Regions from separate parts of the Homo sapiens genome. Here all the other regions are linked to region 5. The links are contacts of gene promoters, found by promoter capture Hi-C in human tissues and cell types (Jung and others, 2019). All regions are on one chromosome and are shown on one strand. Each heading gives the region's core, a stretch centred on a gene start or on the middle of the fragment in contact. The rest is flanking DNA. Distances are from core to core; before and after follow the strand shown. Region 1 overlaps UBE2R2 (ubiquitin conjugating enzyme E2 R2). Region 2 overlaps KIF24 (kinesin family member 24). Region 3 overlaps UBE2R2 (ubiquitin conjugating enzyme E2 R2). Region 4 overlaps UBAP1 (ubiquitin associated protein 1). Region 5 holds the start of UBAP2 (ubiquitin associated protein 2). Region 6 holds the start of PRSS3 (serine protease 3). Region 7 overlaps KIF24 (kinesin family member 24).

The links. Contacts are between HindIII fragments. The study calls those that stand out against the background at their distance.
Region 1: a contact is called between a fragment that was not itself captured here and the fragment with the promoter of UBAP2 in region 5, in 2 of the 25 tissues and cell types used here (hippocampus and liver).
Region 2: a fragment that was not itself captured here is called in contact with the fragment with the promoter of UBAP2 in region 5 in 3 of the 25 tissues and cell types used here (liver, mesenchymal stem cells and spleen).
Region 3: a contact is called between a fragment that was not itself captured here and the fragment with the promoter of UBAP2 in region 5, in 1 of the 25 tissues and cell types used here (liver).
Region 4: a fragment that was not itself captured here is called in contact with the fragment with the promoter of UBAP2 in region 5 in 1 of the 25 tissues and cell types used here (mesenchymal stem cells).
Region 6: a contact is called between a fragment that was not itself captured here and the fragment with the promoter of UBAP2 in region 5, in 3 of the 25 tissues and cell types used here (dorsolateral prefrontal cortex, liver and mesenchymal stem cells).
Region 7: a contact is called between a fragment that was not itself captured here and the fragment with the promoter of UBAP2 in region 5, in 2 of the 25 tissues and cell types used here (IMR-90 fibroblasts and small bowel).

The regions. Positions count from the first base shown.
Region 1 is chr9:33,904,140-33,907,490 of GRCh38, reverse strand. The region is part of intron 3 of UBE2R2 (ubiquitin conjugating enzyme E2 R2); the gene reads right to left. Among named protein-coding and RNA genes, the nearest start is that of SNORD121B, 29 kb to the left of the region's middle. The HindIII fragment of the contact is 6,422 bases long and covers 1-3,351 here.
Region 2 is chr9:34,258,324-34,262,102 of GRCh38, reverse strand. It overlaps KIF24 (kinesin family member 24), which reads left to right. Exons shown (of 13, transcript NM_194313.4): 10 at 2,398-2,507. Among named protein-coding and RNA genes, the nearest start is that of KIF24, 69 kb to the left of the region's middle. The HindIII fragment of the contact is 3,150 bases long and covers 259-3,408 here.
Region 3 is chr9:33,848,904-33,852,787 of GRCh38, reverse strand. The region is part of intron 1 of UBE2R2 (ubiquitin conjugating enzyme E2 R2); the gene reads right to left. Among named protein-coding and RNA genes, the nearest start is that of UBE2R2-AS1, 32 kb to the right of the region's middle. The HindIII fragment of the contact is 6,885 bases long and covers 1-3,884 here.
Region 4 is chr9:34,200,825-34,204,331 of GRCh38, reverse strand. All of the region lies in intron 1 of UBAP1 (ubiquitin associated protein 1), which reads right to left. Among named protein-coding and RNA genes, the nearest start is that of UBAP1, 24 kb to the right of the region's middle. The HindIII fragment of the contact is 7,642 bases long and covers 1-3,507 here.
Region 5 is chr9:34,047,328-34,051,098 of GRCh38, reverse strand. It overlaps UBAP2 (ubiquitin associated protein 2), which reads left to right and starts at 2,212. Exons shown (of 29, transcript NM_001370062.2): 1 at 2,212-2,274. It also overlaps the pseudogene RN7SKP114. RefSeq lists enhancers at 1-532, 533-1,389, 1,580-2,109, 1,390-2,245, 2,246-3,102 and silencers at 2,140-2,229, 2,380-2,429. The HindIII fragment of the contact is 41,306 bases long and covers 1-3,771 here.
Region 6 is chr9:33,793,538-33,797,371 of GRCh38, reverse strand. It overlaps PRSS3 (serine protease 3), which reads right to left and starts at 1,811. Exons shown (of 5, transcript NM_002771.4): 1 at 1,759-1,811; 2 at 570-729. The coding sequence starts at 1,798. The region is part of intron 3 of UBE2R2-AS1 (UBE2R2 antisense RNA 1); the gene reads left to right. RefSeq lists an enhancer at 762-1,262. The HindIII fragment of the contact is 4,072 bases long and covers 1-3,713 here.
Region 7 is chr9:34,288,501-34,292,200 of GRCh38, reverse strand. KIF24 (kinesin family member 24) reads left to right here. Exons shown (of 13, transcript NM_194313.4): 5 at 1,812-2,027. Among named protein-coding and RNA genes, the nearest start is that of KIF24, 39 kb to the left of the region's middle. The HindIII fragment of the contact is 4,720 bases long and covers 1-3,700 here.

The DNA.
Region 1 (3,351 bases), core at 486-2,985, 140 kb after region 5:
TAAGAATGAGGGCCAGAGAGTTCTTAGTCTCTGTGGTTCATTACACAATTCCCACTGCCACCATTCAAGGAGTTAGAGATACTCCCAGAAATAAATGTGCTCCTTCTGCCCCTCTTTATGCCACAGCGAGGCAATAAGATAGGTCTTTTCAGGATAGAGGATCTAGGCCAAAAGAGAAAAATGCTAAGAAGAGAAAGGAAACACAGAAAAAAAGGACAGGCAAAAGCACCTCACTTTACAGTCTTGAGGTTCATATTTCAGATCCTTTTGCCTGCTTCAGTTATCTTTGGTCAGAGGTTATTTAGCTATCTTGTTCTGAATAAAAAATAAGTTTGTAAACAATAAAAACCCTCAAAGAAAATGAAGACCAACACATCATATATAATATATATTGCAGACTAGCCAACAGCAAATCAAGCTGTGAAGTTCTGCAGAGCTCATATGTGTTTAAAAGACAAAGCAAACTTGGGTCTCACCCGGCCCCCAGGCTCCAGTGCAGTGGCAGAATTACAGCTCACTGAAGCCTTGACCACTTGGGCTCAAGTGATCTTTGCACCTCAGCCTCCTGAGTAGCTGGGACTACAGGTGCACACTACCATGCCTGGCTAATTTTTTTGGTAGAGATGGAATCTCGTCATGTTGCCCAGGCTGGTTTTGAACTCCTGGGCTCAAGCAATCCACCTGCCTTGGCCTCCCAAGTTGCTAGGATTAAGGACATGAGCCACTGCGCCTGGCCTAAAGAAGTATTTAAGGGAAATTGGAAATTAGGATTGTATGACCCAATGCGTAATACTCCATTTGCCCATTTTCAACATGTCGATAACCCTTTCTCTGTTAGCTACTATGTCACCATAAGCATAACTTTAACAGGGTTGTGATAGCCCTAGCATCACAAATAAGACCTGGCTCGAGGGTCTGCCTGGAAACCAAGCAAGAAAAGTTCATAATTTTGAAGGATTACAGACTGGCACCTTCCCCTGGTCCCACCTCCCATGTATATATCATCCCTCCAGACAGCATGGGAGAAGTAGAAAGGGCTTATTCCTAAAAACCAAAAAATCTAAGCTTATGCCAGGTGTGGTGGCTCACAAGTATAATCCCAGCACTTTGGGAGGCCGAGGTGGGCGGATCACCTGAGGTTGGGAGTTCAAGATCAGCCCGACTAACACGGAAAAATCCTGTCTCTACTAAAAATACAAAATCAGCTGGGCATGGTGGTGCATGCCTGTAATCCCAAGTACTTGGGAGGCTGAGGCAGGAGAATTGCTTGAACCCAGGAGACGGAGTTTGCAGTGAGCTGAGATCGCACCATTGCACTCCAGCTGGGCAACAAGAGCAAAACTCCATTTCAAAACAACAACAACAACAACAACAACAGCAACAACGACGACGACGACAACAACAACAACAAAACCTGAACTTACTTCACGCCATAATCATGGGCAAGCATGCATGTATGCACATGTGCACACACACAAACACACACGCAGATTGATTTAGATATTGAGTTTTATAGACCCAGCGTAATGTGATGACAGTTGATGTGTGAAGTCCAGGTCTCTGGAGCCAAACCTAAATCCTGCATACTGTTACTACCACTCTTACTGACTCTGGGTTCTACCCTGACCTTTCTAGTTGTCCTGGGTCCTTAAAATCTCTCATTTCCACTCTATCAAAGGATGGGCCAGTAACTACAGATGACTAGTTAAAGCTCAGTCCTCATTGCATGTTTCAATGTGGGGGAGGGATTTAAAGAGGACATCATGACAAAGAATAAAGAAGCCTGTTATGATAGGGAAAACAGGGCAACTGATGGTAAAATATAGTAGCTTAACGGGTTTACATTATTATAAAGTTTCTCTTTAGGCTGCTAAAGCAACCAACAAATATAACACCTCCTTCTGTGCAGTGCTGGATCTGCTGCTGACTGATGTATCCCTGAGAATGCAAGGTAGGAATACAACTACAGTTTTTAAATGCCCAAATTATGTATCATCTGCAGAGAATGGAATTGGCAGGTTGAGGGCAGTGGGACCCCATGCACAAAAACCAAGGAAGCAAATAAATAAAACCACACTGTTCCAGAATTGGGTTTAAAAGAGCTTTAGGAACAGCATGGTTATGCCTGTTTCCCCTGACTGTGCTTACTTTGGCACCCAATGCTAGGGGTGATGTCTCTGGCTCTCTGTTCTTAAGACTAGACAGAAAAATATCCTACCCCACTTCTGAGACAGACTCTTTTATACCAAACAACAGCCTCTCTTGATTGGGTTAATAAATTTGGTTTCACGCTTTATTTTTGAAATTGAAAAAGAAAACATTATGTATGCCTCTTTCAACATAAAGCAAATCCACACCAAGACCACTTCACCATCCCAGAGCCTATAGCAGATAGTAGTTCTGGGGATGGTGTCTCACAGAAAGCAGCTGTGAACTCTATAGCAAAGTCTGAGGGCTTTGCTACTCCCACTCCCACCCTACCCTATCCCCAAAGCTCCCACATCATTCTAGACAAATCATGTATTAAGGCACATTTTGTTTCCTCCATCAGGAAGAGGCATAATGCTGTGAACTTCTAATCAAAGACGTGTGGCAACTCCCAACTCCATTCTTGCTGACAAATGCCTACTCCTTAAAACTTTCCAATTCAGGAAGAAACTCTCCCCACCACCTCCAGCCCCACCAATTTAATCCTGGGCCTCTGGGAGGAGGAGGCCTGTGGATGTTTTCTTTCAAAAGAAGTATGCTGGTTTTCCCAAGAGGTAGCAAGCTACCGAGCCTTTAGTGAACACCAGTTGGCTGATTCTCTGCATCCCTAAAATTCTTCCTTTTCAGGTTGGCTAACTCTCACTACTCACCAGATCTGATAATACAGACTGACTTAGACTCTTGAAGGTAACTGGAGTCCCTTATTCTTCAAGTTACAAAAGTGCTCCATTTGCCACTTTATGTTATAAATATGTCCATTGAGGTGCTGAACAATAGTCTTGAGTACACGTGGTTATGGAGAAGAAAACCAAATACGTGAATATGGAATCACTTTCAGATGCCAGTGAGAGGCAGCAGATAAGACTCCAAAACAGGATGAGATGAACCCTATGCCATCTCCACTGCTGTCTTACTACAGCCACCCATAAACTGGACATGGAGCCCAGAACCCTTAGACAGTTGCTGGCCCTAGATAATTTAGCAGCAGAGAGGTACAAGAAGGAAAATAGTTGCCCATTTCCACTACATCTTGTATCTTCCCTCTTAATATTTCAGTGCCATAAATGACCTGTTAGAAAATATAACAGTTTACTACTTTAAAACCTCCCTTGTCTCACAACCAAGTGAACACAGAAACAAAAG
Region 2 (3,779 bases), core at 584-3,083, 210 kb before region 5:
GGGTGTGGTGGCTCGTGCCTGTGGGCCCATGGTCCCAGCTACTTGGGAGGCTGAGGCGGGAGGATTACTCGAGCCCTGGAGGTTGAGGCTGCAGTGAATTGTGAGCACGCCACTGCACTCCAGCCTGGGCGACAAAAAGAGACCTCATCTTAAAAAAGAAAAGAAAATGTTGAATTAGTGAAATCTCTAAGCCTTTGCATTGAATAGGGTGACGTAGCTACCTGATACTTTCTTGGCTCTAAGACTTAGACCACTGTTTCGGCACAAAAAAATAATGGCTTCAGGCAGTTAAAATGAATGAGCTAGATTTTCTATATGTACTGATAGGAAAGATGACCAAGATCTATTGTGATGTGAAAAAAGCAAGCTGTAGAACAAGGTAATAATGTGATTGCCTATATGATTTCTACTATTACGCAGCCACACAGGGAAAAACGTTTAAAAAGATGCAGAAGAAACAGCATTGGATCTATTTGGAAGTAACAATGGGAGTAAAGGTGAAACTGCAACTTTTCATGTTAAAAGATCATGTACTGTATGACCACTTTCTGTTTTTATCATTTTTAAAATGTGCGACATGGAAAAAAACACTACACAAAAAAATGACATAAATGTTAACTATGATTATTCTTAGTGGAACAAATAGGGTTTTTGTTTTGTTTTGTTTTTCTGTCATGAAAGTGTGCCTCTTTATTAACAAAAAACTCCAGTAGATGTTAAATCAGCATTCATAATGGCTGCGGAAGAGTGGCATGGGAGGGTGTACCTAGGTATAAACAGCTGTGAAGACAGTTGTGGGTGTCCTGGGTTCTTTTTCGCCTTGTGTCCTGTGCACAGTGGAAGACAGACAAGGTAGAGAGATGTCTAGGAGAAGATTTTTTTGTATGCTGCAGGATGAAGCCAGCCCCGCACATGGGCAGAGTTTTATTCTGTGCAGCTAGAGTAGCGGCTCCATAGTACTTGGGCAGAACCTGTAAAAACATAGTTCCTTACCCATCACAGTTGGTGATCTGTAGGTTAGGTCTTCTCAAACATGATTTTAACCAGGGACCCAGGAACCTACTTATAGGTGGTTAGTCCTGATTCTGGCATTGGCTCTGTTGCTTTTTACTTATTTATTTATTTATTTTTGAGAGGGAGTCTCACTCTGTCGCCCAGGCCGGAGTGCAGTGGTGTGATCTTGGCTCACTGCAACCTCCACCTCCTGGGTTCAAGCGATTCTCCTGCCACAAGCCCCTGGAGTATCTGGGACTACAGGTGTGTGCCACCATGCCTCACTAACTTTTGTATTTTTAGTAGAGACGGGGTTTCGCCATGTTAGCGAGGCTGGTTTTGAACTCCTGACCTCAGGTGATCTGCCCGCCTTGGCCTCCCAAAGTGCTAGGATTACAGGCATGAGCCACCGTCCCCAGCCAGCTCTGTTATTTTTTAAGACAAGTTCCCCATTTCCAGAAAATGTGTTTCTTTTTAATTAAAACATAAGAATTCCAATTGTACATACAAGTATAAAGAAGAAAGTAAAAGATAAAGTCCCAGACCTCAGTGATAACCACACACTGCTACGTTAGTGAACTTCCTTCTAGTCATCTCTCTGCCCGCATAGCCTCATATGGATCTGCTTACGGAGTTATGGAGTCATACACCTTTTTCCCTCGAAGATAGAAGCTTTAGATATCTTTCTGTGTTCCTAAGTACAGGTATAATCATTTTTAATGGTTTTATTATATTCAGTGTATAATTATTTAGTTTGTTCCCTGTTTATAGATACCTAGATTTTTACTAAATATTACTATTATAAATAATGTAATGAATATCATATATACTTTTTTTGGTCAATTGGGCAATTATCTCCTTAGGATAAAGTCCTAGAAGTGTGATTGCCAAACCAAAACATACTTTTTCCTGTTTTTGAGACAGGTTCTTGCTATGTTGCCCAGGCTAGTCTTGAACTCCTGGGCTCAAGCGATCCTCCTGCCTCAGCCTTTTGAGTAGCTGGGACTACAGACAGGTGAGTGCCACTGTACCTGGCTTCTTTTTACATTTTGATACATATTGCCAAACTGCCCTCTGGAAAGCTTGTCCAGTTCATGGTACATGCTAGCGTAGAAGAGTACTCATTTCCCTGGACCCTCACCAAGGAATGGCATCGTTAGTCTCTTAATCTAATGAGTTAAAAATATTGGTTTTTTTAATGGTTTGTTTGCATTTTTTGGATTAGTGATGTGGTGAGTACCTTTTTCTGTGTTTATTGGCCATTTGTATTTTTTCTTTTGTTAATGTTAATTACCTTTTTGTGGACAGAAGGGAACTATGGCCCAGCATCCTGCACCTAGTAAGTAGTCAGTATGCACTTTGTTAATTGACTTCACTCATTGACCTGCCTTCTGTTTTGGACAGGTCCTGAAGGACTCTTTCATCGGCAATGCCAAAACCTGCATGATCGCCAACATCTCACCAAGCCACGTGGCCACTGAACACACTCTCAACACCTTGCGCTATGCTGACCGGTAAGTCAGCTCCCAGATGGCAGGTTGTGTGTAAGTGTGCATGTGCATGTCTGTGCAGCACGCGTGTGTGAGCATGTGTGCACGCGTGTGTGTGTGCAAGTGCATGCACATGTCTCTCCCACTCACACACACATAGGGATCTGACCTTGAGCGCCACAGCCTTGTTCTTGGCAATTAGTCATTTGAAGACTGTGACCTGGTAGGCCCTGTCACTTTGCAAGCATGACAAGAGGAAAATGACACATTCCCTTGTTCAGGAGTTAATTCTGTCAGTGGCTTTTAAATGGCTAGTGAGAAGTGAAATATTAATGGGTGGAAGGCTCAGTGTTGTTTTCTTCCTGCTGGCCTCAGCCCAAATTGTAAGAGATAGAAGACATATTACTTGTCAAGGCAGAATCACTTAGAGCTATCTGTGTCCAGAAGGGCCCAACCCAAACATGTTAGAGGATAAACTGAGGTCCAGAGAAGGGTAGGATCTTTCCAAAGGCTCACTAGGAGTTGGTGTCAGAGCCAGCAACTCTTGACTGCCTGGCCAGGCCTCTTTGTGGGTGACTGTGGTATCTGCTGGGATCCCTTCCATCTCTCACCCTGTGGTCACATGTGCTCTCCTAGTAGGTAAGATGTTTTTGATTGCCATGACTGGGAAGAAGTGCTACTGGCATCTAGTGAGCAGAGGCCAAGGATGCTGCTAAACATCCTTCAAGAAATAATTATCTGGTACAAAATGTCAATAGTGCTAAGGTTGAGAAACCCTGGGAATAGACAAGTCATTTTTCCTTTCATGGAATGAGCACAAGCCTGTGTATTTCTGGAGGTTTTGCTTCCTGAGGTCCCAGCAGGTTTGAGGGAACTCATCTTCCTAGAGAAGCCTGAAAGGGGGTGGTTTGCAGAAAAAGAGGACTCTGTGGAATTGCAGGTAAGTGGTGGACACGAACTCCTGAGTTGGCCTCTCTCCAGGAAGCAGTGTGGGCCCTGCATAAACACAGTGCACTTCTGAGACTGGCGTCTCTGGCCTGTCCCTTACATGGGGCTGTGGTGATTTCCAAAAGGCTTCTTCTGATCATGGAATGTTGGGTGCATGCTTACATCCTCAGAGAAGACACTGTTCTTTCTCGTTTGTTTTTTAAAGACAGAGTCTCACCCTGTCACCCAGGCTGGAGTGTAATAGTGTGATCATGGCTCACTGCAGCCTTGAACTCCAGGGCTCAAGCAATATTCCCCGCCTCAGCCTCCCAAGTAGCTGGGCCTACAGACACGCATCACCATGTCTGG
Region 3 (3,884 bases), core at 202-2,701, 200 kb after region 5:
GATCCACCTGCCTCGGCCTCCCAAAGTGCCTGAGCCACTGCACCCGGCCCCATACTTGTTAATATGAAGAAAACTTAAGATAAAATTAAAATCATCAATAGAACAGTAAACGCAGTTACCTACCATTCAGTATGGCCCTCACAGAGGCAAAGCAAGGCCTAGAAGAAGAAAATAGGCCACCTGTCTTAGAAAGCAAGGAAGCAAAGAATGGGTCTTTCTCATTCACAGCATTCTCCTCGCCCAATCTCCCAGGATTGTGCCAAAGAACTTGGCATCAACTAACCATACCTGAAATTGCTGCCAATGTGTGGAAGTCTTAGCCAGATTTGTCCCCATTTATATTTATACTCAAGTGGACAACTGTCACCAGGTGGCAGCAAACCACAGCTAGGACCAGGTCAGATTTGGATCATGCAGCTGGATTCCTGTAACTCCGGGCCAGCTAGAAATAACACTAGTGTGATCAAATTTTGTTTCTGAGATGGGGTCTGCTCTATCACACAGGCTGGAATGCAGTGGTGCAATCATAGCTCACTGCACCCTCAACCTCGCGGACTCAAGCGATCCTCCTGCCTCAACCTCCCAAGTGGCTGGGACTATAGGCACATGCCACCCCACCTGGTTAATGTTTTTTATTTTTTGTAGAGACAGGGTCTCACTATGTTGCCTAGGCTGATGTCGAACTCCTGGTCTCAGCAGTCCTCACCCTCACCCTCCCAAAGTGCTGGGATTACAGGCCTGAGCCACTGCACCCGGCCTAATTAAATATGTTGAACCCCACCTATCTCATTACGGTGGAGTCTTACTACCAATCAGATAATTATCCTGACCCTTCTAGATATGACTTTCTCGATGTAGATAATATTTTAATACTTTTATATAGTTATATATTAAAATAATACTATTTATGCCAATGTAATATGCATGCATGTAAAACACACTTTATGTGAATGTATACCATTACTACCCATTTAATGAAATAGGAGATGAGTCCATTGAGATATAAATAAATGAATAAATTAGAAGTTCAATAGCAATAGGATGTTTATGTAGTTTCAAAGCACCTCCTCACAAAATACTCATGAATTACAAGGAAAAAGTAACTTGATAGTGGAGAAGCTTGGCAAACATCTTCTAAGTGACCCAAGTGGACATCACCAGAAATGAGACAAATCAAAATCATGTACCACCTAAAAAGAATATAAAGAACATAGGGAAAATTTACCCAAATTGAAGGAGATTCCACAAAGTAAGTGACCTGTACTGCCGAAACTATAAAGGTCATGAAAGTCTAGGACATGACTAAGGAACAATTACAGGCTGAAAGAGACTACACAAACAGGATAACTAAAAGCAAATACTTGGCTCTGAACCAGATCCTTCTGCTATGAAGAACATTATTATAACTGACAAAACTAAATGGGGGCTGAGAATTATTAACTTCATAATTGTTGATAATAATTATAATGATGTGGAATGCACTTGTCTGTAGGAAATACACTTTAAAATATTCAGAGGAATGGTGAAACTATCAGAGGTTGGCAACTCACCCTCAAATGGTTCAGGAAAATAGTTCTTTGAATTTGTAAGTTTGTGGTTGTTTAAAAATTTTTATTTTAATTGTTTTTAAAAAGAGTGCCTACCAAAGGATACGAACAAACATACTACAATGTTTGCCTAAGGATTCAGAGGGGAATAGAAGTGGGAATGGAAGTAAAAAGAAATTAATACACATATGCATACCAACAAGCAAGAAAAGGCCTGGAAGGCCAAAATGTTTAAGAAGTATTAATGAGAAGTATGATTATGAACTGAACTCTAGAACAATAACCAAAAAATTTGGTTTAAGTAAATATTGGCCTAAGTGACTGCATCTGGGGGCAGGGCTCACCTGAAGTGTGGCTTTATGCTGGAGGTAACCATAGGAAGTAAACAAAAGACTCACTTTCTCTCCATTTTTATAAGAGCTGAAAGGGGTTGCTAGTGAATAATGGGGAAGAGTAGGGAACTGATTGTTCCTTATTGTAAGTCTTACACCACATGTTACTCTTAAAACTATATATGTGAACTATTTTTATAAATAAACAATTAAATGTAAAAAAGGAACAAAACAAGTTTGAAATCAGTAATATGAAGGCAAAAAGGAATCCCGATTGGCAGGATTTGTAGGGGCAGGCAAATTTAAGAGGTTAAGATTAAGCCAGAAGTCGGGAAGCTAGATATGCAAGTCAGTTATCAGCCATAAGGACACAGATGAAACTTGGTATTGCAGAGGGCATCAAACCATGAGTTTGGTAGGCTCGTCTGTTCAGCTGATTTATCAGGGAATAGTAGATCTAGTATCATGGAATGAAGAATGGTTACAGGTGACTGAGAAATGAAGCAACTAATGGCAGCCTCACGCCCAGTCTCTGCAGCGATCCTCTTTGCAGTTGCTGCCACTTTAAACACATCCACAGAATCTGGGCATCCCTAACTCCTAAGAGAAATTCTGACTTGATTTTTAGAGCTCTAGATCCTCAGCCTCAATCCAATCCTTAATGGTCTAATTACTGGACGCCAAGCTGAATACCACTGTGTGCTCTAATTCCAAAATTCTTGTTCTGATAGCATATTTAGTTTCTGCTTGCCATGCCCCACGTACTTCTCTCAAGGCTGTACTCTGTCACAGACTCCAGCCCAGTGCGTTTCTCTGGTCCTCTTACCAAACAACTGCCTGACAAATTTCTGTGTAAATATCCAAGTGTCACCTGCTTTGGAGGCAGGAAAAAATATAGATATAGGCAGACAAACTTGTATAGGCTGCAGAACCAGGAATGTAAACTAATCACTGAAACCTTGGACAACTCCCTGTGAACCTTAGTTTCCTATACATATAGAATTGGGTCAGTGGTACTTGTCTCATTGGGTTGGTGTAAGAAATACAAAGAGGGGGTCTGGTTCTGTTGCCCAGGCTGGAGCGCAGTAGTAAGATCTTGGCTTGGCTCACTGCAACCTCCACCTCTTGGGCTCAAGTCACCCTCCCATGTCAGCCTCCTAGGCAGCTGGAACTAGCAGCACATGCCACCACACCGCCTGACTTTTTTTTTTTTTTTTTAAGTAGAGATGAGGTTTCACCATGTTGTCCAGGCTGGTCTTGAACTCCTGAGCTCAAGCACCCTGCCTGCCTCAGCCTCCCAAAGTGCTGGGATTACAGGCGTCCATCCATACTCTTGATTCTTAAAACAACCCTATGAGGCAGTTATTATCAACAAACCTGTATTACAAATAAGGAAAATGAATACAAAGAATTTAAGAAACTTACACAGGGTCACACAGCTAAGTAACTAATGGTTGTTTGATATTACTTACATATCTCTTTATATATACCTATATATAACAGATATTTCTTTAAATATTCGGTATACATATATATGTTTGTGTATATACACACCTACACACACAAAAAGATAAGGATATTTCCCTACTCAGCACAGAGCAGTGCACATATTAATCACTCAATAAACAGGAGTTTATTTATTTATTTTTTTGAGACGAAGTTTTGCTCTTGTTGCCCAGGCTGGAGTGCAATGGCGAGATCTCGGCTCACCGCAACCTCCGCCTCCCAGGTTCAAGAGATTCTCCTGTCTCAGCCTCCCGAGTAGCTGGGATTACAGGCATGTGCCACCACGCCCGGCTAATTTTTGTATTTTTGGTAGAAACAAGGTTTCTCCATGTTGGTCAGGCTGGTCTCGAACTCCCAACCTCAGGTGATCCGCCCTCCTTGGCCTCCCAAAGTACTGGGATTACAGGCGTGAGCCACGGCACCCGGCCTAAACAGGAGTTATTATTATCTTTGTAGTTCTCTGATAAATTAAACAACTTTCTCATTTTAAGATTAGACT
Region 4 (3,507 bases), core at 776-3,275, 150 kb before region 5:
CTAATACAATACTAACTGGTCAGTTTTTTGTTGTTGTTGTCTTGAGACAGAGTCTTGCTCTGTCGTCTGCACTCTGGAGTGCAGCAGCAAGATTCTTGTGCCTTAGCCTCCCGAGTAGCTGGGATTACAGGCGTGGGCCATCACACCCAGCTAATTTTTGTATTTTTAGTAGAGACAGGATTTCACCACGTTGCCTAGGCTGGTCTCAAACTCCTGACCTCAACTGATCCACCCACTGTGGCCTCCTAAAGCTCTGGGATTGCAGGCATGAACCACCACGCCCAGTCTCTTAACTGGTTAATTTTAAAACAAAAAAAAGTTATCATACTAGAAGCTATTAATTTGACCTGAAATAAGTAATTGCAAATATAATTTTTTGTTCTTCCTGGAGTCTTCAAACTCAGTGGATTGTATCATTCTGTTTCCATCATGTGAAACCTGAATGATTTTTCCCACAGAAATAATACAGCCTTGTTCACAAAACTTGAAAACTCAAATCCCCAGGGGAACACTGTAGGCCTAAAGGAAAAACAATATAAGGATGGAACAACTTCACACGGTGTCAAAGATTTATGGGGAGAGAAAAGGGGTTCTTAAGTAATTTCACATGCTTATGAAATATGTGTATGCTAAAATAAATGTCAGAACAGATGTCTTTAAAGTTCTATTAAATATTTAAGAAACAGATTATTCCTATTTTATTTAATCTATTCCAACACATAAAATGGAAACAAATATATATTTGTAGCTTATCAATTTATTCAGGATTTGTTTATTGTCTGTCTTCCCCACTTGCCTTTATGCACTACGAGGACAAATACCACTTCTGTCTCATTCACCATTACACCAAGCATAGTGCCCGGCCACAGTAGTGCTCAGTAACTCCTGCTGAATGAATGTTGCTGAATTCCAAGTTCTCGTATGAGATCAGCATAACACTGATACCAAAAACTGACAGAGAAAAGAGAAAAAAGAACCAGAAATGAAAGCATATTTAATTTTTGTTGATCCTTGTTTTTAGAGACAGGGTCTTGCTCTGAACAGCCCAGGTTGGAGTGAAGTGGCATGAACATTGCTCACTGCAGCCTCAAACTCCTGAGCCCAAAAGATCTTCCTGCCTCAGCCTCCCAAGTATCTGGGACTATAGGAATGTACCACCACACCTAGCTGATTATTTATGTTTTATCCATACATACCCAAATCCTAATTAAAATAGTAGTGAATTAAACTGCAAAATCCTGACTGTAGCAAACTTTTAGAAAAAGTGATTCAGTTTCCTTCAACACAAAAAAAGCAAGATGAAAAGAGAACCTACAGACTGAAAAAGATCTTAAGGAATACATCTCAAGCAATCACTAACTTACAGACCTTATTTGAGTCCCAATCCAAACACATGAGGAAAACACAATAAAAAAATTGAGAAAACATGAATATTTGATAATATTAAGGAATAAGTTCATTTTCTATAGGTAGGATAATGCTATTATAGTAATTTATGTGATCTTTCAGAGATATACAAAAATAACTTGACAGGTTAAATGATATGACTGGGATTTGCTCTAAAATAACTGGGCAGAGGGTATGTATATAAAACAAGATTGACAGTTATTGGGGCTGTATGGTGTTATGATACATACATATACGGGGACGGGGACACACACACACACACACACACACACACACACACACACACACACACACACACACGTTTCTGTCTACAGCTTCTGGCCCATAACTCCCATAGCCCTTGCTGGAGTCTTCTGTTATAATGCTAGGTATGTCAGGCCTCAGAAAACAGAATCTCTCAAATCTTTTCCCACCCTCCCTTCAACTGTCCTAAGGTAGAACTCTATCTCTCCCAATACCCCTTTCTCATTGTGAGTCTTAAGCCCCTCTCACAGGCAGGGCAGGGTGGCTCACTCCTACAATCCCAGCATTTTGGGAGGCTGAGGCGGGAGGATCACTTGAGGTCAGGAGTTTGAGACCAGCCTTACCAACATGGTAAAACCCCATCTCTACTAAAAATACAAAAATTAGCCGGGCGTGGTGGTGCATGCCTGTAATCCCAGCTACTCGGAGGTGGAGGTTGCAGTGACCCAAGATGGTGCCACTGCACTCCAGCTGGGCAACAGAGTGAAAGCGTGTCTCAAAAGAAAAAGACGGAGACTCCCACTCTGTACTCTGGGAGAAGGAATGCTAACATCATGAAGCTTCCATAAAAACTCAAGAGGACTGGATTTGGAGAGCTTCTGGCTAGCTGAACACCTGGACGGAGGTTCGTGGATGGTGACACCCCAGGGAGGATATGGAAAGTCAGTGCACCTTCCCCCCTACCTTGCCAGACAAATCTCTTCATCTGTATACTTTGCAATCGCCTTTAGAATAAACCAGTAAACATAAAAGAGTTTCTCTGAGTTCTGTGAAACACTCTGGCAAATTAAACCTAAAGAGAGGACCGAGGGAACCCTGACATGAGTGAAGCTGGTGGTCAGAAGCACTTGAGGCCCAGACTTGTGACTGATGAGTGCTAGGGGGCAATCTTGGAGACTGCGCATTCAACCAGTGGGATCTGACACTATCTCCAGGTAGACAGTGTCGGCATTGAACTGGAGAACACCCAACTGGTGGCAGCTGCTTGGTGTGTGGGGAAAACTGCCCACACATTTGGCCACAGAATTCTTTTTCTGTGTTGATAATTGCTGTGGTGGTGTGTGAGTAGAAAAAAATAAGAGTTTTTACAAAGCAGGATTAATCTACATTTTTGTTGTTGCTGTTGTTGTTGTTGCTGTTGTGACAGTCTCAGTCTGCCACCCAGGCTGGACTGCAGTGGCACGATCTCAGCTCACTGCAACCTCTGCCTCTGGGGTTCAAGTGATTCTCCTGCCTCAGTATCCCAAGTAGCTGGGATTATAGGCACACACCACCACACTCGTTAATTTTTGTATTTTTAGTAGAGTTGGGGTTTCACCATGTTGGCCAGACTGGTCTCGAACTTCCTGACTTCAGGTGATCTGGCCACCTCACCCTCCCAAAGTGCTAGGATTACAGGCATGAGTCATGCCCAGCCAAATCTACTTTTATGAGTTTGGAACTTTCTAAAATAAAGAACTAAAACAAGGCTGGGTGCCATGGCTCACACCTGTAATCCCAGCACTTTGGGAGGCCAAGGCTGGTGGATCACCTGAGGTCAGGAGTTCCAGACCAGCCTGACCAACATGGAGAAACCACGTCTCCACTAAAACTACAAAAAATTAGGCAGGCATGGTGGCGCATGCCTGTAATCCCAGCTACTCACTCGGGAGGCTGAGGCAGGAGAATCACTTGAACCCGGGAGGCGGAGATTGCGGTGAGCCAAGATCACGCCATCACACTCCAGCCTGGGCAACAAGAGCGAAACTCCATCTCAAAAAAAAATAAAATCACTTAAGCCTATATACAGTTTAACATTTTTATAAAGCTCACAATTAAGCAAAAATAAACAATATATTATTTAGGAATATATATCAT
Region 5 (3,771 bases), core at 963-3,462:
CTCACTGCAACCTCCACCTCCTGTGTTCAAGTGATTCTCCTACCTCAGCCTCCTGAGTAGCTGGGATTACAGGCGTGTGCCACCACGCCAGGCTATTTTTTTTTTTTTTTTTTGAGACGGAGTCTTGCTCTGTCGCTCAGGCTGGAGTGCAGTGGCGCGATCTCGACCCACTGCAAACTCCGCACGCCATTCTCCTGCCTCAGCCTCCCGAGTAGCTGGGACTACAGGCGCCCGCCACCACGCCCGGCTAATTTTTTTGTATTTTTAGTAGAGACTGGGTTTCACCGTGTTAGCCAGGATGGTCTCGATCTCCTGACCTCGTGATCGGCCCGCCTTGGCCTCCCAAAGTGTTGGGATTACAGGCGTGAGCCACCGCGCCCGGACATTTTTTTGTATTTTTAACAGAGACGGGGTTTCACCGTGTTGGTCAGGCTGGTCTCAAACTCCGTATCTTGTGATCCGCCCTCCTCCGGCTCCCAAAGTGCTGAGATTACAGGTGTGAGCCACCACGCCCGGCAGCATTCTTTAATTCAGATGAATAACAAAGGCTTTATTTGAACTAGATAGGGCTGTTTAAGATGTCAATTGTTTTACTTAATAACTAGCAAATTAGTAATTAGCATAGTGCCCTGTACAAAGTTCAGTATAAGCTAATTTCCCCTTTCTACCTTACTTAGACCTTTTGGGCCCGATGGGTAGAGTGTGAAAATGATTACTGATACTTACTGAGGGTTTATTATGTGTCAAGCAGGCATTTTACATAATCTCATTTAATTTTCACAAGCCGGTGAAGTGTTATTACAGAGGAAAGCTCCAATTGAGATAAGGCATGCCGGGACTGCAAAGTCCTTGTATGTAACTAGCTTGGGATAAAACAGGCCAGTAAGTAGACCTTGAGAGCTTGTTTAGAGGACCTTGAGAGCTTGTTAACACGGGCGTGCAGCTACTCCTATATCCTTGACTTGTCCTCTTCTATGGGGGATGCTCCTCCTTTTCGACCGAATATGCAGCTTCGGGAGGGACGCACATGGAGAGGTGCGGGAGGAAGGGGCCACCCGCCTAGACAGCCAGATCAGCCGAATCAGCCCTGGCGATCTATGGGGTGACAAGATAGCCAGAACGCCCTCACATCCAAACAGGCCAGTAAATGGAAAATACTTTAAAACACCATGCTACAATTATAAACCATCATCTTATTTATTCGTAATTCTTGGAGTTGACAACAGGTCAGATCCTATTGAGAGGAGGTCATTAATTTTCTAAAGACAGAAAACCTGGGTCTCTTCGGTCAACAAACAACTCTAAGGTTCTTTTTTTAAATCCTTAAATAGGGAAAATCCTGGACTCAAGGAGTTGATTATATGATATAACAGAAATAAACGGCTGACTTGGAGTAGGCGTTCAGTAGATTCTAGTCTTTTCACCCAGAAGGGGCTTGGGAGGGCAAAAGTAAAACCGCACTGAAAAAGACTAAAAGTGGGCGCACCTTCCGCCTTGCCGAGGCTCTCGCTGCTAGCCGTTGGCGTTTTCCCGCGCAGGGGGCAGGGCGCAGAGCGAGCCCAGGAACGTGGGAGCGGAACCCCACCCCCCGCCAGGACTACACCTCCCAGCAGGCACCACGCTCCGCCACATGGCGGGCGGCATCCAATGGTATTAGTCCTTCAAGCCAGCTTAGTCCGCTTTCCGTCCCGGCCTTCCCTCGGCTCTAAGGTCTCTAGGGGGTTCGTCTAGAAGCCCGCTGGAGAAAGGCTGCGGTAGGGGTCGCCTTGGCTGTGCAGCATGTTGGGAGTCGTGGTCCCCTCGTGCAACATTTGGGAGGCCAGGCTTGCCCTGAGTGGTTGGACCACATCACGTGATGAGCACAGGGCGGCCACAGGGGAGTAACCTGTGGTGCTTTGTGAGGTCATCACGGCGCGACGACGAGCTGCAGTTGTGGGCACCTTGTATGCGGTGGGTAATACTCTCCTGATGACTCCGAGTACAATACATATTATCAAGTCTCCCTTATTTGTTCCTTTCTGTGGTCCCCACCTCCACGCGGTTGGCTTCGCGGGGTTGGGGTGGAGGTGGTGGCTGGAAGAGGCCGCGCGCCGCCTAGGCTGACTCTGAAGCCGCGCACGAGCGACGTGTTGTGGCTCCTCCTTCGCCCGTGACGCGAGGTCACGTGACGGGTTGGGCAGCCTGTGCCGCCGCCGCCGCTTTGTAAGAGGCACATTGGCAGGTAACGAGCGGCGGCGGCGGCAGCGGGTCTTGGGTCCTCCGAGAGCAGCAGCGGTAATTGCCATCCTCTCCCTCTCCTTCCCTCTTCCAGGGCCCTGAGCGCTGCAGCGTGTGCTTTCTAATTCTGGGTTCAGCTCGTCTGAAACCCCACCGCCTGCAGACTGCCCCGGCGCCCACCCGTGAGGACCGGGCCGAGCTTCACTCGCCAGGTCCACGGTCCCTCTACGTCCAGGCCCGGGCTCCCTCCTTCCTCTTCCCCTCACGTTGCCCTGTGCTTCTTCCTACTTTCCCCCGTCCAGGTCGGCTGGGCCCCACCCAGCCCCAGGGGTGCCTCCCCTCCCCCCTTTCGGGTTTCTGCCCTGGAGGGTGTGGTTTTCTCTCCCACCTCGGTGCCTGCCAGTAGACTGGAGCTTCCCCGCCACGCTGTCGGTCCCATCTCATCACCTTTCCGCTTTCACGCCCGTAGCTAGTCTTGGGACTGGCCCTGTTATAGCCCCAACTTATGCGCTCTCTAACCTTTCCTGGCTTACCCGGAGTCACAGTTCAGTTCTACTTCTTTTCAATTCTGTAGGGCATTGGTCTCAATTGGGACTCAGTTTTCCTCCACACCCGCCGTTCCTGTAGTCTGGTTATATCACAGTTCATTATTTAATGTAGGTTTTTGAGCGCTTTGTAAACGGCAAAGCTCTCTCTGTTAATAATACATACTCAAAATGTTATTCTTTCATTGGTGCATTACAACTCAGTTGTTTGCCTCTGAATCACTTTCCCACTCGGCTTTTCCACATTTTCCCCTGAGTTTTTAGTCTAATTAGTTGCCCACGCATCTCAACTGTCACCACTCTGGTCTCTAATGCTTGCTCGCTTTAGGGGTTGATCCCATCATTATTACTGTTATTTCCTGTTTGATGTAATCCAGTCATTTACTACCACTTCTATTGGATATTGTTTTTACCTCACATTCAAGGAAGGTATATGGTTTGCCAGTATTTAGGCTTATTGTCTTTCTACAGCACCAGTGTATCCTAACAGTTGAGAGATTTTAAAAAATTACTATTAATTTTAGAGATATGGTCTCCATATGTTGCCCAGGCTGGCCTCCAGCTCCTGGGTTTAAGCGATTCTTTCACCTCAGCCTCCTGAGTATCTGGGATTACAGTGTGCACCACGGTGCTCAGCTAGTTGAGGGTTTTTTCAGGTCTCCATAAGGTATCCAAAGATTATCTTTTATTTGAAGGGCATATAATTTCTTGGGTGAACCCAGTTCTTATATTCCTCTTCCGTTGTGACAGCACTTTTTTCAACAAGGGGTATGCGACTAGTTATTGCATTCCTCACTTTTCACTGTGAATTGTGTATCCGTTTTAGTGCCAGTTTGTGAAAGGTGGAAGGAAGTTGAACATGATACCTAAGCTCTCCCGTATCCTACATTGGTGTGTTCCCCTTTTACCTCAGGAAAGGGAATGTATTCCACTCCCTGGAGATGATAGTTTCCTTCAATACACTCACCTGTGGAGCCCCTTCGCTAGGGTTGTCCTTCCATTGCTTTGA
Region 6 (3,834 bases), core at 428-2,927, 250 kb after region 5:
TGGGAACTTGTTAGAAATGTAAATTCTTGGTCCTTACCCCCACCCGCTGATCAGAACCTTGGGGATGGGACCCAGTGATTTGTGCTTTAATAAGCCTGCAGGTGGTTTTGACGCATACTCAGGTTTGAGAGTTCTTCGTGTAGGCAGCGGTTCTCAGCTCTGTCTATACACTCTACAGTTACCAGAGGTAGAGTGTTAAATACTCACTGGTATTCACACTGTCTTCCTGAGAAGTTTGAGTTAATTGCCCTGGGGTAGGACACAGGCATCAGTATTTTCAAAAACTCTGTCTTAGGTCGCTTTAATGTGTAGCTAACCAGCAAAAGGTACTTGCCTGCTTTTGTCACTAGCTCTGACAACTCCAAGATTATCCCTGCCTGCTTTTATGACCACAACCCTTGCTGTTTCATGGATTGGCCTTGCTCTGGAGAGTCAGCTGCTGTCAACAAGTTTTCTTTTCCACCACCTCTCCCATCCGTCTTACCCAACCTCAGTACTTCCCTGGGCTGAAGCCAAGCTCTCCCAGGCAGCCTGGCTGGGAGCTTTGCAGTCAGGGGCCCCACACTTACGTCTTGTAGCAGTGAGCTGCTGATACCACCCACTGTTCGCTGATGAGGGAGCCACCGCAGAAGTGGGAGCCAGAATTCAGGGACACCTGGTAGGGGAGAGAATTCTCCTCACAGGTGTAGCCCCCAACAATCTTGTCATCATCGTCAAAGGGGACAGCAACTGGAGTGGAAATAGGAAGGGAGAAGGCAAGTCAGTAGCATGTTAGGGGTGGTGCTCCCAGCCTGCGGTTGCTTCCTGCCAATTAGAAATCCTTAACAAGCCCAGTGAGGCCAGGCAAGGGAGGGAGCGCTGCCACCCCTGGTGAGCATCACTGGATGTGGCTCCCAAGTCTCTGTGTCTGCAGGGCACGTAGCTAGGTACCCTGCAGGGGCTCAGATCTCTCCTGGGGACACCAGGCTGAGGATGCAAGGAATGTCCTCAAAATGCTTCCAGTGGGGTAGCAGTTGGTATGTTGTTGTCTCACCCACTGAGTGCTTCTCTCTTTTATTCATCACCTGTGTACTTGCCCTGGCTATTTGAGCCCTGGATTGTCAGGATACTTTGGCTAAGCTAGGAAAACCCCCTGTCTGGGTAGACCTGGCCATGACTAGCTTCCCCCATAGCTCAGATCTGTGCAGTGAGGGCAGAGTTGAGGGCAGCCCCAGGCTCACTTTGGCATAACAAAGGTAGACTTTGTTATTGGCCAATAGAAGAGCAATTCTTAACTTTGGCGGCATGCCTGGAAACGTTAAAAATCACCTGGGAAGCTTAAAAGCCCAGTACACAGGCTGCACCCCAGACAAATGAAGTTAGAACTTCTAGAGTTGAATCTCTGGCATGAGTAATTTTTGAACCTCCCCAGGTGCATTCGAGGTTAAGAGCAGCTATAGTGGTGCTATACTGGTGCTCTTGGAGCCAAGCCTGAAGCCTGCCACTTCATTTCATGGGCCAGCCCCACCTGGTCTCCCTTCCCAGCTTCTCCAACCACAGCTCGGATATGGATGAATGACAGTGGTGGGAGTGAAATGAGGGAAAAGGTGAAACAGGTGAGGCTTAAAGAGAGCCCAAGGAGGATGGGAAGGAGATATGTCAGATGGAGGAAATAGAATATCAGAGCGCAGTCAAAAGAGGAGAGGTGGCAAGAATGGCAGGGCATGTGTCTGCCAGGAAAGGGGGTGGGTGGGGCCTGAGGCAGGTCATGAAACTCGCCAGCAGCTCCCACAAAGGCAAGGATCAGGAATGGATTCATGGTGGTAGAGTGTGCCTGACTGGTGGTGGAAGGCCTGTCCTTATACCCTTCCAAGAATCAGGAGAGGAGGTGTCTGTGAGGTGAGGGTCACAGTTCTTCCCAGCACAAACACACCTGCAGCTTTCCCCTTGCCAGGGTCTTGCATCAGCTCGGCTACGTTTGGCCACTCTGTGGGTTTGTGATTCACAGGTGATAAGGAAACTTGCCTTCTGAGAGCAGAGAGGGAGACTGGCTATTTCCTGGAAGGATGCTGGGATGGGGAAGACAGGGGAAACCAATCCCCGGATCACACAGCTGGGCTTTCGTAGGCCGAGGAGATGAGGGTTAGAAGGAGGGAGAATGGCCTGGGTGTCTAGGAGTCCTTTTAACTATTGGGGATGTATTTAATAATGTACTTAAGGAAGGGCAAGCATTGGTAACAAGCTTGGCTTTTCAGTTTCCTGGAGCCCCCACGAGAGGAGGAAAGTCTTATCTAAGGCTCATTTTTGTGAATATGAATATGCTTCTTTGCAGTCACTGTGCACAAAGGTCAAATCCAAGACTTTGGGTATCCAGAATTCCAACACTAAGGGGTAAGGAGAAGGGAGACTTAGCATTCCATAGGATTCTGGGCTTCCAGATGGCTCTCCTTCCTACCAAGGCTTAAAAGGATGGGAAGTGTTTCAAAGAAGGAGGGGACACAGGTTAGGTAGGAGCTTACTCAGTGCATCTGGAGGATGGAAAACCAATGGCGCACTCCTCCCCTTCTTCAATGTGAAGCCACTTGTCTCTCTCATGTGCATCCTGTCATAGGTTCTTTTTATGCAGCCTCACGGTTGTCCTGGCAACCTGCACTTAGGGTGATGCAAACTGACTCACCTGCTCAGGGCTGACAGCCTGAACCAGAATGACATGCCCCTGATCAGATGTCAGAGTTTGGACCATGGTAAATCTGGGTTACCATCTGATCTGAGAATCAGCAGTAGGTAGAGATTTTAGCACATGGTAAATGGGTCACATATTGGGATCAATAAGAAGATGTGGAGGGGTGGGTCTAGAATTTTCTATTTTAGATGCAGTGAGATTATGCTGGGCTTAGTATCAAGTGAATCTTCCCAGAGAATATCCTGATTTGGGCCCTACCAAGGCTACTAAGACACAGTTGTGTAATTGACTGAGGCACAACCTGGCCAGAGTAGTGTGGAGATGGAGATGCTGTCTGTGATCAAGTCTAATGATGTAAGGAAAGGAGGAGCTTCCTTATGAGGGTGCTTTCCCTTCTCAGCAACTCTGAGCTCAGGTTGGTGATGGGCAGGAGTGAGCAGAGTTCAAGTTTAAATTCTTTGAAAAGTAAAAGAAGCAGAGATGTTCTGGAGATGGTGAACAAAATGAGAAAAGCTCAGAAACTTCGTGTTGAGATCGGACATGGCCAGGGGGCTAGAGGGAGGAAGCAAATGGAAACCAGAGGGAATTGGAAAAAATGCGAATGTGGGGCCCGTGGAGTTGAGAGGACACACAGAGTACCTTCAGGTTCAGCTCCTGGCATGGCCAACGAGCCAGCTTCCCCAAAGCCAGGAGATCCACTGCTCAGAGACCCGCTCTCCACCCCACATCCCCTCTAATCACTGATGGGCTCATACCTAACACTGCTGTACTTAGATGGTGCATGGTGCCTGACAGCTTTACAAGAGTTTTCACATAAGCAACAGTGGTACATTGCTTTTCAGTTATGCTGAGTTTCACAGTTTGACTTCCCACAAACATGCTAATTGTGATTTGTGCAGAGCAAAATTATTTCCATTTATAGAGGAAGAGACTGAGATTCAGAAGGATTCTGTCTTGCCCAAGAATACAGATCTTGGCAGAGCTCACCATAAGGCCAACGGAAGCCATGGAGATCATTGTGAACTGTGGGAATTGCTGCAGGTGACATCTAAAAGGAGATTTATTGAGGATCAAGGCAGAGGTCCCCAGAGGACAAACTGTGCATCTGATTCCTTCCTCCTGCTTTTCTTCCTGGCAGAAATAGATGATTGAATTCATCTTTCTCCTGGCAC
Region 7 (3,700 bases), core at 899-3,398, 240 kb before region 5:
TCTTCATGTTTCACCTGGCCCAGTGAACTGCATTTTACATTAGATAATGTAGACAACAGTAGGGCAGAGGAAGCATCAAATATGCATTTATTTCAGGTGAGCAGAGGGATGACTTAGAGTTCTGTCCTGTGTCCTCCATGTGTGAAGATAAGCTATCAATTGACATTGCCAGGGTGAAATTCAACACAACTGTTTTAAGGTGAAGACCATGAGCCCACAAGGAATTTCCTAGTGGGCAAAATGTGAGGGAGATATGTAGCTTTTTATCTTTGTAGCCATCTTATTTAGGAACCAAATGGGAGGCAGGTTTGCGGGACCCATTTCCCAGCTTGACTTTTCCATTTGGCTTAGTGAGTTCGGGGTCCTGAGATTTATTTTCCTGTCACAATGCATAGACTTTTTTTTTTTTGCTGCAAGCAGCTATTTTTATCATTAATCCATGAGATTCATGTTTAAGAGTCTGCAACAGCTCTAAGATTATGTTCATTCTCTACTTAGCACTGTGTGGGTGAATCCCACAACACTCAGATAATCTTGGTCTCCAACTCCTCGTAAAACATACTGTGATTGACAGGCTGGTCTCCCAACTCCATTCTCCACCTCTTATTCTGCAGTTCTTCACACTCATAAAGGGTGTGTACGCACACATGTAACCACATACAAGAGCAATGATTCTCACTTAGAATCATAGGGCATCACAACTGGAAGGGATCTTAGAAACCAATCTACTACTACTTAGAAACTAATCTACTGATAAAAGTGAAAACTGAGGCACAGAGAAAAGTGAAGGGACTTGCCTAAGGTCATATGGTTAGTTAATGGTAGGGCAGAAACCAGAGCCCAGGCTTTTTTTTTCCCCTCAAGATTTGGTGTGCCTGCTGCCATCTTTACTACTGTGGCCTCTGTTCACGCTATTCCTATTCCACAGTGGAAGCTCTCTGCTTTTCAGCTTCTGCCTTCAAGGCCCAGCCCAATTCCTACTCTTGTGAGTCCTTCCTCAAATACTTTGCTTACATCAATTTCCCCTTTATCTAAACTTCCTTAATTATGAGTGGTCACTACCATCTTGCTTATCACATGATCTCCTGTTATTTCTCGTATTTAATTCTCTATTCTTTCACTAAATTTAACTTTTCAGATTAATAGTAGATCATCTCTAGGATCCTCTAAAGCACCTAGCATGGGGTAGGAATTCAGTAAATGCTTATTGGCTAAGTGGTTTCTTTAAAGCCCTTGTTTCTTTATCTTCTAGAGTTGTTTCTCTTACTGGTTCTGTAAGAAAATTACTATAAGAAAACTCAGGCTGGGTGTGGTGGCTCATGTCTGTAATCCCAGCACTTTGAGTGGCCGAGGTGGGCAGATCATTTGAGGTCAGGAGTTCGAGACGAGCTTGGCCAACATGGTGAAACCCCATCTCTACTAAAAATACAAAAATTAGCCCGGTATGGTGGCGCACACCTGTACTTCCAGCTACTCAGGAAGCTGAGGCAGGAGAATCACTTGAACCCGGGAGACAGAGGTTGCAGTGAGTGGAGATCACACCACTGCACTCCAGCCTGGTTGACAGTGAGACTCCATTTCAAAAAACAAAAAAAAAAAAAAAGGAAAACTTGTGTAGTAGTTTGAGAATTTTTTTTCCTCTTCCTGTGTTCTTATAATGTAAAGTCCTCTTCTCCTTAAAGGTTTATGTGTTTATAGCTGAATTTTCTCTAAGATTCTATGTTTACATTTGACCTTTGTCATTAAAAATCTATGGGTAAACTAATACTTCTCTTAATATGCATAAGTAATGCAAATTATCCTTTCCCCAGAGGCAATGCCACTTGCTTTGCTTATGGACAGACAGGTGCTGGAAAGACCTACACCATGATAGGAACTCATGAGAACCCAGGATTGTATGCTCTAGCTGCCAAAGATATCTTCAGGCAACTAGAAGTGTCCCAGCCAAGAAAGCACCTCTTTGTGTGGATCAGCTTCTATGAAATTTACTGTGGACAGCTTTATGACCTCCTAAATAGAAGAAAAAGGTACTGAATATGAGTGGGAAGCGATAAATCTGTTCATCGCTATTTTAAGCCAGAGTCCCGGAGAATCACTGAATCATAGGCTTTAATGAGATGCTTTGGTACATTAGTGCCCTTTTGTGAAATGAGGCTCCTGCATCAGATACATATTTTCTAGCTGTCAATTCAGCTATAGGAAAATGTAAATTAGCTTTTCATTAATATTTTTTAAAGTGTTCAATATTCTAATGTCTATCAAAAGACTTTCCCTTTTATTTTGGTCTATGAAGAAGGTCATAATTTCAGGAAGTCAGGAAATCAACACGTACTTAAACCCCTTCCTGTTCTTTTGACCTATTATTATACTGGAAAAACTATAAATAATGTTTTCTACTTTCTCTTGTTTTTCCTCTAAATAATCTTAGGGTAAACACCATGATAGTTTTCTGAAATCAATAAGAAGAAAAGAAAATCTTCTCTTTAGAGTTTTAACCCTTGTTAGGCTTAAACTATTGCTCTTGCAACATAATATAGTAATTTAGAAATGTATTCAGTAACTCTGCTTTTAAACACCTATTATATTTTTCTTGCATGAAGTTTTGTTTAGGTTGAAACAGATGACTTAAACTGAGTAGGAGGCAAAAGAAGTTGTGGAGGAAATGGGAGAATAGAGGTTAGAGGGAATGGGGGAGGTGGAAGGATTAAAGGCTGTCATAACAGAATTAACCAGATTTGAGATGTTGGAGGAGTGAATTGAGGCTGAGCCTCCTGGAAGACTAGGGAAACCTAATCAGCTTGAGACTAGCCCGGCAACAAAGGTATCTAAGCCTCTATGGAGCTGTCCAAAAGGATGCACAAGTTTTGCATGCTCCAAGCAAGCAATGGAATGGGGAGTGGGGGAGCAGTTCCAGTTCAATAGGGAGACCATGATAGGGCAGGCCCCCATTGTAGAGGGTCAGTAGGGTACTGAGTAGCATAACTGGAGAAGCCAGCGAGTGGGCTTAGGCAGGCCTCTCTCCTATAACTATTCCAGTGAAAAGGGGACCTTCAGATATGCCACTTGAGATTGTATAGGTGTTCAGAATTCAGTCCTGACCAAACAACTGCGAAATAAAAGAGGGTGCTACTCTGGGGATGCTTGAGGAAGAGTTGCCTTTCTTTTTTACCTTCTTGGTGTTGAAGTCTCGAATTAGCTCAATCACAGCTTCTCCATCAAGCTCCAATGCCCTCATTAGGAGCCCTTTCCAGTCAGAATGCCCACTTCCCTTAAAGAACAATTGCCATGGAATAAAAGCCACTGTGCTGTGTGTGTGTGTGTGTGTGTGTGTGTGTGTGTGTGTGTGTGTGTGGTTTATTTGGGTGAAGGGAGGTTAGGATATCTAGCTCTTTCTGAACGCATTTCTTTAATGAATTGCCCAGATTATTTTATTGCCCTGTATATTTGCATTCCTCAGTTGTAGCAGGGGAATAGGCATATATTAACTCTTGGGTTTGATGCTTCTCTGAGGCTCACTAGGGAAGACCTATGCTTACTCTACAAGTGTCATGGCCTGTGGGGTTCATGTATATATATATATATCCATTTAATTGTCTAATCTAATCTATTTCCTACCTTTCTGGGGCTTCTGAAATGTTCTGGTCCATTGATGGCACCCTTTCCTGTTTATGCTGTTATGCTTTACCCTGTTGATTTTTTT